2 separate regions of the Homo sapiens genome follow, and region 1 is linked to region 2. The links are contacts of gene promoters, found by promoter capture Hi-C in human tissues and cell types (Jung and others, 2019). All regions are on one chromosome and are shown on one strand. Each heading gives the region's core, a stretch centred on a gene start or on the middle of the fragment in contact. The rest is flanking DNA. Distances are from core to core; before and after follow the strand shown. Region 1 overlaps PPP3CC (protein phosphatase 3 catalytic subunit gamma). Region 2 holds the start of PHYHIP (phytanoyl-CoA 2-hydroxylase interacting protein).

What was found. Contacts are between HindIII fragments. The study calls those that stand out against the background at their distance.
Region 1: a contact is called between a fragment that was not itself captured here and the fragment with the promoter of PHYHIP in region 2, in 3 of the 25 tissues and cell types used here (H1 embryonic stem cells, adrenal gland and liver).

What each region holds. Positions count from the first base shown.
Region 1 is chr8:22,463,098-22,467,441 of GRCh38, forward strand. The region is part of intron 1 of PPP3CC (protein phosphatase 3 catalytic subunit gamma); the gene reads left to right. Among named protein-coding and RNA genes, the nearest start is that of PPP3CC, 24 kb to the left of the region's middle. The HindIII fragment of the contact is 3,217 bases long and covers 310-3,526 here.
Region 2 is chr8:22,230,735-22,235,078 of GRCh38, forward strand. It overlaps PHYHIP (phytanoyl-CoA 2-hydroxylase interacting protein), which reads right to left and starts at 1,365. Exons shown (of 5, transcript NM_014759.5): 1 at 1,062-1,365. RefSeq lists enhancers at 1-69, 995-1,742. The HindIII fragment of the contact is 22,356 bases long and covers 1-4,344 here.

The DNA of each region.
Region 1 (4,344 bases), core at 668-3,167, 230 kb after region 2:
TATCTGTTAGCAGCCTAAAATCTTACAACAGTGGAGAGAGAAGAAAATGCCAAGAGAATAAAGGACAAAATCATGCAAGTCTGTAGTCATCAGTGGCTTCTGGCATCTGGGAGGTTGTGTTCTGATTATCTTGGACATAAATAGTCTATTCATTTTATCTTCTGCTTCTGGACCATAACAGTTCTGGAAATCTTGGCTCACCCACTGTTTGTCCATGGCAATGATGTCGGCAGTATGCATCATTAATTTATTCTCTGTAGTGTCAGTAATGGGTGCATGATACAAACATTTACAAAAGTTCTTTTGATAAGTCTTCCACAAGGCTCAATTCCTATCTTTAGCTTATAGCCAGGAACTTTAGATGAATGTAAGGAAGAAGCGGAAACCACCTGTGGATCATGGGACTATAGGCTTTAGTTGATTTATTATATTAACCAGCATTATCAGAATGGAAGGGAGTGGAATCTTCTATTGCAGAAAGTACATAATGAATTTTATGAGTAGTCACTGATTATCCTAGAAGTAAGAATATCTCACAAACAGGGAGGACATTGACAGTCTCTAGGACTTTCTTTCATTTATCCTATAAAGTGTATTATGAGTTTCACCATTCCAAGTTTACTGAAACCTAGAAATAAAATCCTTTTTTAGATAGCTATTGTGGCAGTCTTTGTACTCGAATGTATGTTTTCTTTTTTTTTTTTTTGAGACGAAGTTTCTCTCTTGTTTCCCAGGCTGGAGTGCAATGGCATGATCTCGGCTCACTGCAACCTCCGCCTCCTGGATTCAAGCAATTCTCCTGCCTCAGCCTTCCAAGTAGCTGGGATTACAGGTGTCCACCACCAAACCCCGCTAATTTTTTGTATTTTTAAGAGAGATGGGGTTTCACCATGTTGGTCAGGCTGGTCTCGAACTCCTGACCTCAGGTGATCTGCCTACCTCGGCCTCCTAATATTTTCTTTAAGCCGAAAGATACTTAAATGTTGAAGTATATTTATTTTAACCACATTTTATTATACATGATTAAATTGGGAAGGCTTAACTTTCCTTATGATTTGTGAGGTTTTTTTTTCCCTTTAACCCAAATTTAATAAAGCAAAGAGTTCTCACAAAAGTTTTAAGTTAATTAAAATTCAGAGTATGCCAAACAAAGCTAATAATTTTTATAATCCTTTAAAAAATTTTTAATAAAGTAAAGGACTAAAGCTTTGTTTTACCTAGTGGCCATTTATTATAAACCCAAAGATGTAGTAGGTGTAAAAGACATCTTAACAATTTCTTATTATTTACTTATTTTTTAGAGACAGGGTCTCGCTCAGCTGTCTAGGCTGGAGTGCAGTGGCTGGATCATAGCTCACTGCAGCCTCAATCTCCTGGGCTCAAGTGATTTTCCTGCCTCAGCCTCCTGAGCAGCTGGGACTATAGGTGTGCACCACCACACTCAACTAATTTTTGTGTTTTTTTGGTAGAGACAGAGTTTCGCCATGTTGCGCAGGCTGGTCTCGAACTCCTGAGCTCAAGCAATCCACCCACCTCAGCCTCCCAGAGTGATGAGATTCTTTTTATAGGTGTGAGTCATCATACCTGGACTACTTTTTGCTTTTTGACTGATGATTCCAAGAGCCTTTTCAGTGTTTAGCACATAGACGTAGATAGTTGTAGTCTTTACTTAAGTTTGAATGAAGTGAGTTATGCGTGGGCTGAGTTCACTCAAAGCTTGCCTCAGCTGGGATTATTGACCATATACCCACTTTACTGGAGAATGAGTATGCCAAGAGACCGAGGCAGAATCTGCAAAATCACTTCTGCTGCAATGTATTTGTTAAAGCAGGTCACTAAGGCCAGTTCAGATTCTACGGGAGAGACATTAGACTCTCCCTTTTTTTTTTTTTTTTTGTCACCTAGGCTGGAATGCAGTGGTGCTATCTTGGCTCACTGCAGCCTCGACTTCCTGGGCTCAAGTGATCCTCCCACCTCAGCCGCCCAAGTAGCTGGGACTCCAGGCTTGTGACACCACATTCGGCTAATTTTTGTTGTGTTTTTAGTAGAGACGGGGTTTCACCATGTTGCCCAGGCTGGACTCAAACTCCTGAGCTCAAGCATTCTGCCTGGCTCAGCCTGCCAAAGTGCTAGGATTACAGGCATGAGCCACTGGGCCTGGCCTTAGACTCTACTTCTTGATAGGATAGGGTCAGGTCACTGCTATGCTTTAAATATGATCCCCAGAAAGCATATGTTGGCTGCCTGGGTGATGGGTATACTAGAAGCCCAAACTTTACCATTATGCAGTATATCCATGTAAAAAAGGTACACATATACCCCTTGAATCTGAAATTTAAAAATAAAATAAGTATGTATTAGAAAATTTATCCCAAATGCAGTAGTGTCGGGAGGTGGGGCCTAATGAGAGGTGTTTAGGTCATGAAGCCACCTCTAATGAATGCATTAATGTTGATTATAAAAGGGCTTAAGGCTGCAAGTTCTATCTCTTGCTCTCTCTTATCCCTCTTTGCCCTTCCACTATGGGATGATGCAGCAAGAAGACCCATGCCAGATGCCTGGCCCCTCAATCTTGAACTTCTTAGCCTCCAGAACTATGAATGAGTAAATTTCTATTCATTATAAATTATCCAGTCTATAATATTTTGTCATAGCAACACAAAACAGACCAAGACAGTGAGATTACAGAAGAGTATGTAGAGTGAGAAATATTATTGTAGCCATTTTTTTTTAGTTTTTGCTTTTTTTAAAAAATTATTCTTTAAGTTCTAGGGTACATGTGCTCAACATGCAGGTTTGCTACATAGGTATACATGTGCCATGTTGGTTTGCTGCACCCACCAACTCATCATTTACATTAGGTATTTCTCCTAATGCTCTCCCTCCCCCAGCCCCCCATCCTCCGACCAGCCCCAGTGTGTGATGTTCCCCACCCTGTGTCCATGTGATCTCATTGTTCAATTCCCACCCAAGAGTGAGAACATGTGGTGTTTGGTTTTCTGTCCTTGTGATAGTTTGCTGAGAATGATGGTTTCCAGCTTCATCCATGTCCCTGCAAAGGACATGAACTCATCCTTTTTATGGCTGCATAGTATTCCATGGTCTATATGTGCCACGTTTTCTTTATCCAGTCTATCATTGATGGACATTTGGGTTGGTTCCAAGTCTTTGCTATTGTGAGCAGTGCTGCAATAAACATACGTGCACATGTGTCTTTATAGTAGAATGATTTATAATCCTTTGAGTATATGCCTAGTAATGGGATTGCTGGGTCAAATGGTATTTCTAGTTCTAGATCCTTGAGGAATCACCACACTGTCTTCCACAGTGGTTGAACTGATTTACACACCCACCAACGGTGTATTTCTCCACATCCTCTCCAGCATCTGTTGTTTCCTGACTTTTTAATGATCACCATTCTAACTGGTGTGAGATGGTATCTTATTGTGGTTTTGATTTGCATTTCTCTGATGACCAGTGATGATGAGCATTTTTGCATATGTCTGTTGGCTGCATAAATGTCTTCTTTTGAGAAGTGTCTGTTCATATCCTTTGCCCACTTTCTGATGGGGTTGTTTTTTTCTTGTAAATTTGTTTAAGTTCTTTGTAGATTCTGGATATTAGCCCTTTGTCAGATGGGTAGATTGCAAAAATTTTTTCTGTTTTTGCTTTTTGAGATGGAGTCTCACTCTGTTGTCCAGGCTGACGACTGTAGCTGACTGCAGCCTCAACCTATTGGGTTCCAGAGATCCTTCTGTGTCAGCCTCCTGAGTAGCTGGGAGTACAGGCAGATGCCACCACACCTGGATAATTTAAAAAAAAAATTTTGTAGAGATGGGGGTCTCACCATGCTGCCCAGGCTGGTTTCGAACTCTTGGCTTCAAGCAGTCTCCCCAACTTGGATTCCCAAAGTGCTGGGATTACAGGAGTGAGTCACCATGCCTGGCTGGTTGCAGCCAGTTTTGGAAAATAAAATGTGCTACAGACATTGTAAGGGCAAAATATTTAACAATAACTGAGATTTCTAAAAATTGCAGATTGGCTAAATGTTAATAAATTATGATCTAAGTAAATTATATCTACCTAGGAGAAAATAAAAAAAAATTTATGGTATTTTAAGGTATTTATTTATGTACTTATGCATTGAGATATTTGCCATCAAAATTTTTACTAGTGCGTATAAGTACCTAACACATAGTAGCAATTCAATAAAATTATTTGAATGAATTAATTGAGGATACTTTTCGATCATAGTTTTTATGGTGAGAGTTTTCATTTTGTTCTGTCTTATTTTTATGTGTATTTTAGTTAGATGTTCGCTTAGTCTATTCAAGATGTGTTTTT
Region 2 (4,344 bases), core at 115-2,614:
CATTCAGGTGCCTGCTGCCACCTTCCACATTCTAAGAATGCCCCACAGTTTTCCCTCTTCAATCTGTCACCTCCATGCACACCCAGACATGTTCATGTCCACAGGCTCACGCACACACACGTCCACGCACACCGCCTCACAAGCCATATGTGGGGAAAAGAGGATGCCACAGGCACCAACATGCATGTGTGCCACCTCCACAAGAAGGCACGCAACCCACACGCCTGCCGGCACACACATGTGTGTTCATACACACAGCAGCCCCCGCCCGAAGTCTGGTATTCTCTCTCGAATCATCTCCAGGCTCAAAGACAGACTTTGAAAATGTGTTTGCCTCTGGCCACACTCTGCCAGCCCTGAGCCTTCATGCCAACAGGTTTGTGCACCTACGTGGCTCTGCCCACAGACAATGGTTTCTGCCCCTTCTTCTCTTTACCCACTCCATCCTGCTCTGGGTCTCACCTCCCCATATAGAAAGCCCCTGTCTGCATACACTCCCACACACATGAAAAGGGACATGGTTACCCCTAAATATACTGCCTCATAGTGTCCCCACCCACGCACACCCACAGGCTACTCAAATAAGTCCCCCACACACATGTACCTCACGTGTGCCAGAAAGATATGTTTCTAGACATGCCTCACACCATTCAAAACCCACACATGAGCATGACTGCGGACAGACGGACCTATCTGCGCCAGCAAGCCTCCAGCCAACTCGCGAGCGCGCACACACACACGCCGCGCACACCGGTGCCCCTTCCCCATGCCCATTCAAACAGCCACCCTGCCACAGGGAATGCTTCCCCCACCCTGCTGTCCCTGTTGGCATCGCTGACTGCAGCAGAACGGTCACGGGGTGACTAACTGTGGTGCCCCAGAGACTGGATTCAGCCATTAACCACTTTGCCAAAGGCCTGGCCGGGGGGGGGGAGAGGGGACAAGGTCGTCAGGCCTGGCAGTCCAGGTGGGCACCCTGGGTGGTGGCAGGACCCTAGAGCCCCCAGATCCCGGCTACTCAGGATCAACAGCAGCAGGTTCCAGGGAGGAAGGGTACTCACCTGGCTCCACTGGGCTCTGCAGAGGAAAAGCTCGCAGGGAGGACAGGGAGAGACCTCTGCGTGGATGAGCTCCCCGGCAGGGGACAGCAGCCGGACGCCTGGGTCACGGGCAGTGGCGTGCGCTTGCTCCTCTCCCGGCTGCCAAGGAGGCTGCTTCCATGCCCCGCAGCCAGCTCCTGTCTGGCTGTGCAGCGCGTCGCTGCTGCCCCTGGTGAGACGATGTTCCCAGCTGAGCAGCGCAAGAAGAGAGGCAAGAGCGAAATCAAAGCAGCGTGGAGGAGAGAGAGGCAGAGAAGGGAGAAAGAACGAGAGAGCCAGACCGAATCTGCCTCCACCAATGGGATCAGCGGCTGCGCAGCGTCAGGTGATAATAAGCAGGCTTGGTCCCTGCTCGCCGGGCTGGTGGGAGGGGGAAAGGGCAGAGGGTCTCCCAGGGAGCTACACAGATGTCCTCAGGGACAGCAACACACGCCGCCTTTCCCCCATTCTTCCAGGACAAGCTGCCCTCAGAAGTCCCTCCAACACACCCCCTACTTGGAAATCTCTGACTTGAATGCAGCCCCCAAACTTTAGGATGCTGGGAGAGGGGTGGAGCTTAGCCAAGGGCTTGGGCCCCAAAGCAAAGACTCTGATTGGGGGAAGGGGAGGGAGGCTGTAGAGGGGAAAGGTCCAGATGGGGGGTGTGAAGCTGGGGTGGCTGTCTTCAGTCCGGAGCCTCTCCTTGGGGCCTTTTGGTGAACTGTGGTTCCATTTTCTTACCAACTCTAGAGAGAGATGGCAGACCTGCAGCTCAGGGATCCCTGTGGGTCTGGCAAGAACCCTCTGGCAGCTTGGGGGTCCACAGGAAAAGGGGCTGGGAGAGAGGCTGTGGCACAGTGCAGGGTGCACAGGGGTAAGAAAATGGGGGTGGGAGAACACACCAAGCTCTGAGTGTCCTCAGCCCACCCCACTCTCTGAGCACAAAGGAAGCCGGCCCTGGGCATCTTGGGGAGAGAATGTAATTCTGCTCTCACGGCAGCAGGAGGCTGTTCTGCCATCAAGAAGCAGACTCCGTGGAGGCCATCGGGAAGAACATCCAAGGAAATGTGAGTCCAGCAGCAAGCAGGGACAGAGGGTTGCGCAGTGGTGAAAAGCACAGGCTCACAGTCAGATGGATGTGCTGAGAATCCCTGCTCTACTGCTACCCAGCTGGGGGACCTTGGACAAGCCACTCAACCTCTCTTCATCTGTCAAGTGGGATCACACAGGTTTATTGTCATCATGGAATGAAATAATTAGGTAAATCGCCCAGCCCTGGGCCTGGCACATCAGAAGTGCCAGTCACATGTCAGAACTGTTCTTGTTCCCATCATATCGACAGCATCTTCCTGCAAGGAGCCCACAGTCCTCTACGGGAGAGAAGATGGCCATTTAGAGGATGCAATTAGAGAATGAGGAGCACACAACTAAATCGTAGGGCACAGATACTCATTCAGAGAAAGAACAATGGGCGGCTCCAGGGCACGTGCAGGGTGCAGGCCAGAGGAGGCTGTGGAAGCAGGAGTGCGGCTGGGGTGGGGAGGATTGGCACGGGGGCAGCTGACACCAGGCAGGCCCAGGGTGAGGTCTTGGTGAGCAGGAGAAGGTGTGAGCTGAGCCTAAGAAACACTCACCAAGAGGGAGTTGAGGCGGCAGGCCTCAGTGCAAAAGTCAGAGGAGGTAACAGCAGCAGAAAGTGAGAGTTCACAGAATGCAAAGACAAGCAGAAGCCAACCCTGCCTGAAACGGCTGTGAGAACCTCAGTGAGCCTGGCCAGGTCCTGAACTGCCGAATGTGGGGTGGTGCGTGGCACTGAGGCAGGACTAAGCACCCCCTTGGCCAAGCATGACTACGTCCTGCTCCGACATACCCACGCCGAGCTGGTGAGCTCAGAAGAGATGCAAAACGTAACCTCCTGGTGATGGCCAGCACATGACATCTGGACTACAATTCTGTCCCAGGCCGGGCGCAGTGGCTCACAAGAATCCGAACACTTTGGGAGACTGAGGCAGGCAGATCACCTGAGATCAGGAGTTCGAGACCAGCCTAGCTAACATGGCGAAACCCCATCTCTACTAAAAATATAAAAATTAGCTGGGTGTGGTGGTGGGCGCCTGTAATCCCAGCTACTTGGGAGGCTGAGGCACAAGAATCGCTTGAACCCGGGAGGTGGAGGTTGCAGTGAGCCAAGATTGCACCACTGCACTCCAGCCTGAGTGACAGAGTGAGATTGTGCCTCGAAAAATAAATAAATAAATAAATAATAAAATCCTGTCCCTAGGACCACACAGAGGGGCAGTGCAAGGAAAAAGGCAGGTTCTCTGTGACTTGGTTTCCCCTTCTGCCAAAGGAAAACTAGCCCCAGCACCATCCCTGCCTCCCACCTTCTCGGGATGTCATGAGGAGACTGCACGAGGTCCTGTGGCCCAAGCATGAGCAATAGCCATCTGAGCGCCCCTTTGTGGAGCTGCGTGCCGGCGACAGGTGAAGGCACAGCCCTTTAGGAGCTTCTGCCTCTTCTTGCCTCAGAGGACTTCTCTACAGATCACGAGAGGAAACACGTGGTAAGAGCAAACCATAGTGTGCCAAGTATAACTCACTCCCTATGAAACCAAACAACCGCCAAGATGCACTTCTGCTGCATTTTTATTTTTCATAACTTTTTATGACACAAGTAGCACATGATCATTGTAGAGAGACGAGCACATTTCATTTTAAAATTTAAGAGGGAATTTAAATCTCTCATTTTCCCACCATGCAGAAATACACATTAAATACATATAAAGAATTTTTTTAATTAATTTTTTTCGAGACAGGGTCTTGCTCTGTCACCCCGGCTGGAGTGCAGTGGCGCAAACTTGGCTCACTGCAACCTCTGCCTCCCTGGCTTAAGTAATCCTCCCACCTCAGTCCCCTGAATAGCTGAGAGTATAGGCGCACACCACCACACCTGGCTATTTTTTTTATTTTTTGTAGAGATGGGGTCTCACTGTGTTGCCCAGGCTGGTCCCAAACTCCTAAATGCAAGCAATCCACCCGCCTTGGCCTTCCAAAGTAGTTGGGATTACACAGGTGCGAGCCACCACACCCAGCCAATACTTGTATAGAATTTATTAACAAAAATAGAATGAAAGAATGCTGTTTTGTAACCTGCTTTTTTCACTTACCAATATCTTTTCTGTTCATCATATAACCTTTTTTTTTTTTTTTTTTTTTTTTTGAGACAGAGTCTCGCTCTGTTGTTCTGTCTCCCAGAACCTGGGAG